Regions from separate parts of the Homo sapiens genome. Here regions 1 and 3 are each linked to region 2. The links are contacts of gene promoters, found by promoter capture Hi-C in human tissues and cell types (Jung and others, 2019). All regions are on one chromosome and are shown on one strand. Each heading gives the region's core, a stretch centred on a gene start or on the middle of the fragment in contact. The rest is flanking DNA. Distances are from core to core; before and after follow the strand shown. Region 1 has its middle 30 kb from the start of OR5AK2. Region 2 holds the start of APLNR (apelin receptor). Region 3 overlaps LOC105369309 (a long non-coding RNA gene).

Region 1 (3,401 bases), core at 843-3,342, 220 kb before region 2:
TTTTTCTATTAACTGGTGAGACAAAAATTCAAAACCACGGTTACCTATTTCCTTTCCACTGCACAAGGTTGACTATAAATGAAGCCTAAAAAACCCAGCACTACCCATATATTAAGCATGTTTAAAATGCTAGGGTAAACCCCCGTGGCATGAGTTTACCTATGTAACAAACCTTCACATGTACCACCAAACATTAATGTTAAAAAAAATGCTTAGATAGTTGGCCATTTTCTTTGTAGTATCCATTTGATTAGAAAACACCTTCAACATAGATGAAACAAAATATTTCATATTGAACCAGCCAACGATTAGCTCAATATTAAACATAGAAATGTACAGATTCTGTGTGAGATTGGAGGGGGGGGTTACACTAGTTTCCTTAGCTCCTGAGAAGCATCCTCATATTTTCATATTATTTTATTTAAATCCAGATTACTAAAGTCAAGTTGATATGATAAATGTCATTACTCTATTGAAATTCTAGCTTAACTAGACCTCTGGCCTATTCAAGCTTCCTCTAGTAAGTGTTTATCCAAATGAAAGAAACACTTTTTGAAAGGACTGCATTTCTTTCATTTTACAGTAAATTTACCCTATGAAGAAACTTATGCTAACTTAATATACCTCAGTATTCACTAAATGTTAAATTGAAGAGAATTGTTTCTGCTTTCTTGTTCCTCCACTACAGAACAGAAAAAAAAAAGCAATAGAAAATGTAAGGCTATTTCTCAGACATCAATTATATAACAGGTTTATTTTGCTTGTAAAGAATATCACCTAGATGGGAGTTGCATTCTAAAGATATAAATACAAAGATACTTTGAAGCCTTCAAACATATGTAAAGCATGAATATATTTAGGGAAATTTATCTCTAGTTTATTGTACTAATTTCAAGAGCTTTATCCAAAATTAAAATGGTAGGTGGCTGTGAACAATTGTAGGTTACTAAAGGGGTACAAAATTATGTTTTAATATTACTTTAGGTATGGATGCCTGTTTAATATAGTGAAAAATTGCTCATCTATATTTCTAAGAACTACACACATTAGAAGTCAGTCTTCTTCTAAGACAACCTTTTTCCTTTTGAAGATGAATTCATTTCCTCTTTCATCAAGTAGATCACTCTTTACTTGATGATTATAAATACATTTTTTTAATTTGAAAATGAGTAACACTATTGGGAGTATTTGTCATGAAAATCCAAATAGAAAAAAGTGACGTGAAATACAGAGCCATTTCATTGCAAGAAGTCACAAGGATTTCCCTTCTTTTCTGGGTCCTTCTCTTGGTCATTTCTAGAGTTTTGGTAGCCATGGCATGAGGAAACAGCACTGAAGTGACTGAATTCTGTCTTCTGGGATTTGGTGCCTAGCAAGAGTTTTGGTGTATCCTCTTCATTATATTCCTTCTCATCTATGTGACCTCCATAATGGGTAATAGTGGAATAATCTTACTCATCAACACAGATTCCAGATTTCAAACACCCATGTACTTTTTTCTACAACATTTGGCTTTTGTTGATATCTGTTACACTTCTGCTATCACTCCCAAGATGCTCCAAAGCTTCACGGAAGAAAAGAATTTGATATCATTTTGGGGCTGCATGATACAATTATTGGTTTATGCAACATTTGCAACCAGTGACTGTTATCTCCTGGCTATGATAGCAGTGGACCATTATGTTGCAATCTGTAAGCCCCTTCACTATACCGTAATCACGTCCCAAACAGTCTGCATCCATTTGGTAGCTGGTTCATACATCATGGGCTCAATAAATGCCTCTGTACATACAGGTTTTGCATTTTCACTGTCTTTCTGCAAGTCCAATAACATCAACCACTTTTTCTGTGATGGTCCCCCAATTCTTGCCCTTTCATGCTCCAATATTGACATCAACATCATGCTACTTGTTGTCTTTGTGGGATTTAACTTGATGTTCACTGGGTTGGTAGTCATCTTTTCCTACATCTACATCATGGCCACCATCCTGAAAATGTCTTCTAGTGCAGGAAGGAAAAAATCCTTCTCAACATGTGCCTCCCACCTGACCACAGTTGCCATTTTCTATGGGACACTCTCTTACATGCACTTACCAGTCTCATTCTAATAATTCCCAGGAGAATATGAAAGTGGCCTCTATATTTTATGGCACTGTTATTCCCATGTTGAATCCTTTAATCTATAGCTTGAGAAATAAGGAAGTAAAAGAAGCTTTAAAATTGATAGGGAAAAAGTTCTTTTAAATCAGCCCCAGTTGTTAACATTCAGCTCAACAAATCATCCAACATAGCTGTTCTGCCAAAATTTAATTTTTCTACAATAAGGAATATGTAGAAAGATGTCAAATTAATAATCTAACATCACCTCTAGAGGAATTTAAAATACAAGAGCCAACCAATCCCAAAGCTAGCAGAAGAAAAAGTAACTAAAATCAGAACCGAACTGAACAAAATTAAGACACAAATATTTATGCAAAAACTTAATGAAACCAAAATTTGGTTTCTTGGAAGAATAAATAAGATTGGTAGGCTGCTAGCCAGATTCACAACGAGAAAAGAGGGAACATCTAAATAAGCACAGCCAGAAAGAACAAAGGTGGCATTACAACCAATCCCACAGAAATACAAAAGATACTCAGAGAATATTATGAACACTTTTATGCAAATAGACTAGAAAATATAGAGGAAATGGATAAAATCCTAGGAACCCACAAACTCCCAAGATTTAATAAGGAAGAAATTGAAACCCTGAGCAGACCAGTATCAAGTTCTGAAGTGAAAACAGTACCAAAAATCTACCAACCAAAAACAAAGTACAGACCAGATGAATTTGCAGTCAAATTCTACCAGATGTAAAAAGAAGAGCTGGTGCCAATTCTACTGAAACTATTTCAAAAAATCGAGCAGGAGGGACTCCTTTGCAACTCATTCTATGAAACCAGCATCAGGTCTCTGATACTAAAACCTGACAAAGACACAATGAAAAAAGAAAACTGCAGGCCAATATTCCTGATGAACATAGATGCAAAACCATCAATGAAATACTAGCAAACCAAATTCAGCAGCACATCCAAAGTTATTTCACCATGATCAAGTAGGCTTCATTCTTTGGATGCAAGGTTGGTTCAATATATGCAAATCATGAAATGTCATTCACCACATAAACAGCATTTAAAGCAAAAACCATATGATCTCAATAGATGCAAAAAAAGCCTTCAATAAAATGCAACATCCCTTCGTTGTAAAAATTCTCTACAAATTAAGCATCAAAGCAATGTACCTTAAAATAAGTGCAATCTATGACAAATTTACAGCCAATGTCATAATGAATGGGCAAAATCTGAAGGCATTCCCCCTTGAAAACTGCAACAAGACAAGGGTGCCCACTCTCACCATAGTTC
Region 2 (3,164 bases), core at 1-2,500:
GGAGGTGCCTGCGCACCTGCTCTGGCCACAGCAGAGCATGGAGGTGCAGGCCTGGCGGAAGCGGGGGTCGAAAAAGGCATAGAGGAAGGGGTTGAGGCAGCTGTTGACGTAGCTGATGCAGGTGCAGTAGGGGAAGATGTTCATGAGGAAGAGGTCAAAGTCACAGGGCCAGTGCAGCAGGCTGCCCAGCATGTACAGCGTCTTCACCAGGTGGTAGGGCATCCAGCACAGGGCAAAGGTCACCACCAGCACCACGATGATGCTGAGCAGCCGGCGCCGCTTCCGCAGGCCCTCGATGCGTTCCTTGCGGAAGTGGCCAGCGATGGTTTGGGCGATGAAGAAGTAACAGGTCAGCATGATGGTGAAGGGCACCACAAAGCCCACGGTGGTGGACGAGACCCCAAGGCCCACCTCCCAGGCCCACTCTGAGCTCACAGTGGCCACCATGGAGTAGTCCATGTAGCACTGCACCTTAGTGGTGTTCTCCAAGTCCCCGGTGGTGCGTAACACCATGACAGGCATGGCCAGGAGGGCGGCCAGCACCCAAAGAACTGCCGTGGCCACGGCCCCGCTGACCCGCAGCCTCAGCCGAGCATTGGCCACTGGCCTCACGATGGCCAGGTAGCGGTCGAAGCTGAGGCCGGTGAGGCAGAAGACGCTGGCGTACATGTTGACGAAGATGAGGTAGCTGCTGAGCTTGCAGAAGAAGGTCCCAAAGGGCCAGTCATAGTCCCGGTACGTGTAGGTAGCCCACAGGGGCAGCGTCACCACGAAGGTCAGGTCAGCCACCGCCAGGCTAGCAATGAAGATATCAGCTGAGCGCCTCTTCTCCCGGCTGCTCCGAAACACGGTCCAGAGCACCAGACCGTTGCCCGTGGTGCCCAGGAGGAAGACCAACATGTAGATGGCAGGGATGAGGGCCCCCGAGGATTTCCAGTCTGTGTACTCACACTCAGACTGGTTGTCTGCCCCATAGTAGTTGTCAAAATCACCACCTTCCTCCATGCTGGGGAGTGGAGAGAAGACGGGCAGAGGGTCCCAGGGACACCAGCTCCGTGGCTCTGTCACCCACTCTGCAAGCAGCCTGAATTTCTGGCTTGAGCCTCAGAGAGTAAGAAGGGCTGAAGATGCCCAGAGTCCTTCCCAGCACTCAGGAGGAGCTGCCTCTGGGTTCTCCAGACCCTGGAGGAAGCCTGTCTCCTGCAGAATTTCCTCCACCCTCTCTTGCCTTACCCCCGTCTCAGTTAAGACACTTCCTTGCACCCTCCTGCGTCCCTGTCTCCTCCTTGACTCGTCACTCCCTCCTCCCACCTCCAGACCAGCCCCTCTCTTGTGAGTCAAAATCTTTAGTGACAGCCCACTTTTTTTTTCTTTTTGTCACTGAGCAAGTGGACCAAATTGACCCCTACTGTGCTGGGCTGAACATTATCTGTGGTTTTGCAAGTCGGCTTTCCTGGCCCCGCCTCTCCTTTCTGGCTGCCACCCACCTTCACCCCAGCCCCTATCCCTCCACTTTCCTCTGGCCACCACTTCCTGCCTGCCCTTTAGGGCACTCCCTCCTCAGTGCTCTCCGCCCTCCTGTTCTCACCCCCTTCCATCCAATCTAAATGGGACACATTATGCAGATTGCAATCCAGCTTGAGCTGGAGCCAGGGCTGGTAGGGAGCAAGGAGGGTGTAAGATTTCGCAGGATGGGCAGGGCATCTGGCAGGTCCTCCTGGCAGGCAGGTCTGGCCCCCTCGGCTCCCTTCCTGCACCCCCAGCCCCCACCCAGACCAGGTGTCACAGGAGGGTCTTCTCCCACTTTGCCTCTCGCTTCATCTTTCTCTACCCCTTGGCTTTGACCCTCCCTCTGAGAACTTTTGTGGTTTCTAGAGAAATACCCCTACACTAGTGTAGACTGCAGTTTGCAGTTTGCGGAAGGCACAGGATGCTTTAGAAGGTTGAGGGCAGTCACAGGATGGAAGAAACCCAGGACAAAATTATCTCTAAACAAGTCATTAAATCTGTAGGAAACAAAGGCCCAACAAGGTCAATGTTTTGCCCAAGGTAATAAAGTGAATTATGCTACAGTTGATTGTTTGCTTTTCTTCTTCTCCAAACACGAACATAATACAGTACCTGGCATGTCGTAGGTGAATGGCTGTTTTGTTTGTTTGTTTGTTTGTTGAGACAGAGTTTCACTCTTGTTGCCCAGGCTGGTCTAGGCTCACTGCAACTTCTGCCTCCTGGGTTCAAGCGATTCTCCCGCCTCAGCCTCCCTAGTAGCTGGGATTGCAGGCTAATTTTTTTGTATTTTTAGTAGAGATGGGGATTGACCAGGCTAGTCTCAAACTCCTGACCTCAGATGATCCACCCACCTCGGCCTCCCAAAGTGCTGAAATTACAGGCATGAGCCACCACGCCCAGCCAGGTGAATGGCTGTTGAGTGAGTAAGTGGATGGATGATGTAGGAGGTGAGTGAAAAGGGGAATCCATAGATGGAAGAACAAGTGTAAGAATTACTACGTGGTGAGAACATGGATACATTTCAGTTCTCAGGTTTTTACTATCCTCCATGGACCAAGAGGTTTCTGTAAGACCACAGGGGGTCAGGAAGTTGAGCTAGAGGAGGGGGGTCTCTAGAGAAAGACTCAGTCACTGGAGGATACTGTGGGGAAAGTTCCGTAGACGCTCACTTTGCCCCAGCTCATCACCTCTCCAGGACCTCTAGGAAGGAAGGAAGATGCACGACGTAAGATTTTTTTTAAAAAATACGCACCCTTTCCACAACCTTGAAGAGTTGGGGAAGCCACCTGACGTTGGGTAATAGTGAGATGGAACAAAAGCAGGAGCTGAGCCTTAGCCACTTCCAAGGCAAAAGACTTACAAAAGCTGGAATTGGCCAGGCAAGGTGGCTCATGCCTATAATCCCAGCACTTTGGGAGGCCAAGGCAGGAAGACTGCTTGAGCCCAGGAGTTCAAGACTAGCCTGAATAACACAGCCAAGACCCTGTCTCACGATATATATTTGTCTTAAGTTACTACAAAAGCTGGAATCCATTTTCTGGAGGGAGAGTGGATCAGAAAATCATATGCAGAGATCAAGGAACTCAAACTCAAATACCTGCAAAAAAAAAAAAAAAAAACAGGCCAAGAGTGTAGTTTGAGACAACAGAGAATGG
Region 3 (2,995 bases), core at 477-2,976, 160 kb before region 2:
ATAAATAAATAAAATATATAATATGTTAAAGGTGTATGTGTTATATTTTAAAAAAGAAGAAGAAAAAAAAGGCAGGGTAAGGTCAAAGAGAATCAGAAGTTTGGGTAAGGAGAGTGGGGTTGCAAAATTAATTAGCCTGGCCAGGGTAAACCTCCTTGAGAAGGTGACATTTGAACACATACTTGAAGAAAGTGAGAGAGTTGAAGGAGGTACAGCTATCTGGAGGAAAAGACTTCCAGGCAAAAGAAATAGTAAGATAAATGACCCACAGCAGGAGCATTTCTTATTTGTTTTAAAAAACACCAAGACTCCACTGTGTGGCCAGAGTGGAATGAGCAGGTTGGGTGGGGGAAAATAACTGCAGGTTAGAGCACAGAAAGCCTTGCAAGTCATTATAAGGATGCTGGTTGTTCTTAGAGTCTTACAAGCAGCTGTTGCAGAGTTTTGAGCCGATAGGTACCATTTTCTGGCTTATGTGTTTCATTTGTTTGTTTGTTTGTTTGTTTTGTTGAGATAGAGTCTCACTCTGTCACAGGCTGGAGTGCAGTGGTGTGATCTCGGCTCATTGCAACCTCCATCTTCTGGGCTCAAGCAATTCTCCTGCCTCTCAGCCTCCTGAGTAGCTGGGATTACAGGCACACACCACCACGCCCAGCTAATTTTTGTATTTTTAGTAGAGACTGGGTTTCACCATGTTGGTCAGGCTGGTCTGGAACTCCTGACCTTGTGATCCACCGGCCTCGGCTTCCCAAAGTGCTGGGATTACAGGTGTCAGCCACCACGCCCAGTCGCTGGCTTCGGTTTTAACAGGATCACTCTAGGTTATTGGCTCAAGTAGCCAAACACTCTAAGGGTTGAAACTGGCTTTAGTTGTTCCAGAGACTCAAATGATAACATCCAAGCTTAGTTTCTTTGCATGTCTCAGCTCAGCCTCCTTTATGTGTTATTCTCAGCCTCAGGATGGTCCCCTTCCTGGTAGCAAATGACTGAAACAGCTCTAAGCCTTGCACAACCAAAGCCAGGTAAACAAGAGAAAGCCTTTCTTTCTACAAGTCCCAGGATATATCTCAACAGAGATTCCGCTTGGGATGTGTTCCCCTCTCTGAAACAGTGGCAGAGGGTGAGGTAATGAAGCACATGCCCCTGAATCTGAAGATGAGGCCAATTCTACCCAATCACAAAACTGAGGGAGCAGAGTGGGTTTCCTAGGGGAAATTTAGGGTGCTGCTACCAGAAGGAGGGAGACTGTGCATTGAATCACAAACGATAAATGCTCAGTTATTTAGGGGAAAAAAGATTCATATGCTTATCACTTTAATGTGAGGTAGGTCAGCAGTGGCTACGAAGAGGTGTGGAACCAAGGGCTTATGGCAGAAAGAGGCTAGAACTGAAAGGAAGGATCTTGGAAGGTCACGTAGACTTGTGCACTATTCTTGATTCTGCTGCTAGCACAATGGGGCTCGTCACTCAATTTTATTTTGGGGGCCCTAAATTCCAGCTTCACCTCCATGCAGTGAGCTATCATGCCATATATTACCATTTCAGTTTTCCATTGAGATTCCTCACTAAAAAATAACGTGGTGATCTTAAACTCTCAGGCTTTTCCAACTCTAACCTTGTAGGATTCTTGCTCTGGCCTCTGGAATCCTCCTCCTGCTGTCTTTGGGTCCCCTGATAACCATGTACCCCTCACGCTGTGGTGCCTCAGCTGGCCCTACCTTCTCTGGATTCTGGTTCAGCCCCTGACACCAAGCAGCCATTGAGTGCCCACCATCTCCCAGCTAAGTGATAAAAGTACCTTTGCCATAGGGTGGTTATTTGCATTTTGACAGAAGGCTTCTAGAACTTATGCTCAAACCCTGCACATTCACATAAAGTCCTGGGTGCTGCATGACTCTAAGCCTCATTCTGTACCTTGATAAGAACTGGGCCTGATTCATGCGTGCCCAAATGATAAAACACTACAGTAATGTCCAATCTCAACAGGAAATACTATATTTCTTCCCTTAACACCTCAGATGTATTAGAATGATGGAAATCAAGTAGGCAGTAGGGCCGCTCCAAAAACATTTCACGGACTTGGCTACTTCCACATACAGTCAGCGCTACAATAATTAGGGAAAAGCAGACTTGAAGACGCCAACTTTTCAGACTTAAATAGTCCTACAACACGTAAAGCAACAAATCTATTGAAAATTTTTTGTACAAGTATTTGAACTTTCTCCTTGACGTAGGAGCTCTGAGTTAGCTCTAAAGCCATTTCCCTGAAACAAGTGTGGAGACACTGAACTGCGTGCAATTACAGGTTGTGCTTCCACAACGACACATTGTCTGGTGTGGCTTTGAAAGCTCATGAAGAAATGGTAGAAGGGATGTGGTGGGAACACTCATCCTAGGTCACTTTTACAATATCTCTTTGACTTTCAGCATTGACCTTCAGCATGGCCTTCTCACAGCATGCTCTGGCCTTCTCCACCTCTGGGCCTCTTTTCACACTGCCCCGCCTCTTTAAATGTCCTTTCCTCCCATCCCAGCTCTGCTTTCTCTACTATTTTCTCTTTTTTTCAAAGCTATTTTAAACATTGTTGCCTCCAAGGAGTCTTTCCTGATCTCTCTGCTGGAAAAAATATGAGCCGCCTCTTAGCTCCCACAGCATGCTACCTCTATCTCCACTATGACAACAAGAAATTAGCTTCCTTTAAAAAAAAAAAGCCTCTGCTCAAACCCTGCACATTCACATAAAGGCTTGGGTGCTGCCTCATTCTGGACCTTGCTATGAACTGGGCCTGGTTAATGCCTGCCCAAATGATAACACAGTAATGTCCAAACTCAACAGGGAATATTCTATTTCTTTCTATAACTGTGGTAGCAACCTCTGAGATGATCTCCAGTGATACCTGCCTCCTGGTGTGCATGCTCTGTGTTATCCACTCCCCTTGATGCCCTGAGTGTGGGCAGGACTTAGTGACTCCCTTATAGTAAATAGAATACTGAA

The links. Contacts are between HindIII fragments. The study calls those that stand out against the background at their distance.
Region 1: a contact is called between a fragment that was not itself captured here and the fragment with the promoter of APLNR in region 2, in 1 of the 25 tissues and cell types used here (adrenal gland).
Region 3: a fragment that was not itself captured here is called in contact with the fragment with the promoter of APLNR in region 2 in 1 of the 25 tissues and cell types used here (adrenal gland).

What each region holds. Positions count from the first base shown.
Region 1 is chr11:57,016,778-57,020,178 of GRCh38, forward strand. It overlaps the pseudogene OR5AK1P. Among named protein-coding and RNA genes, the nearest start is that of OR5AK2, 30 kb to the left of the region's middle. The HindIII fragment of the contact is 4,836 bases long and covers 1-3,401 here.
Region 2 is chr11:57,236,000-57,239,163 of GRCh38, forward strand. APLNR (apelin receptor) reads right to left here and starts at 1,251. Exons shown (of 1, transcript NM_005161.6): 1 at 1-1,251. The coding sequence starts at 1,005. RefSeq lists an enhancer at 893-1,525. The HindIII fragment of the contact is 13,017 bases long and covers 1-3,164 here.
Region 3 is chr11:57,077,399-57,080,393 of GRCh38, forward strand. All of the region lies in intron 6 of LOC105369309 (a long non-coding RNA gene), which reads right to left. Among named protein-coding and RNA genes, the nearest start is that of OR5AK2, 90 kb to the left of the region's middle. The HindIII fragment of the contact is 9,153 bases long and covers 1-2,995 here.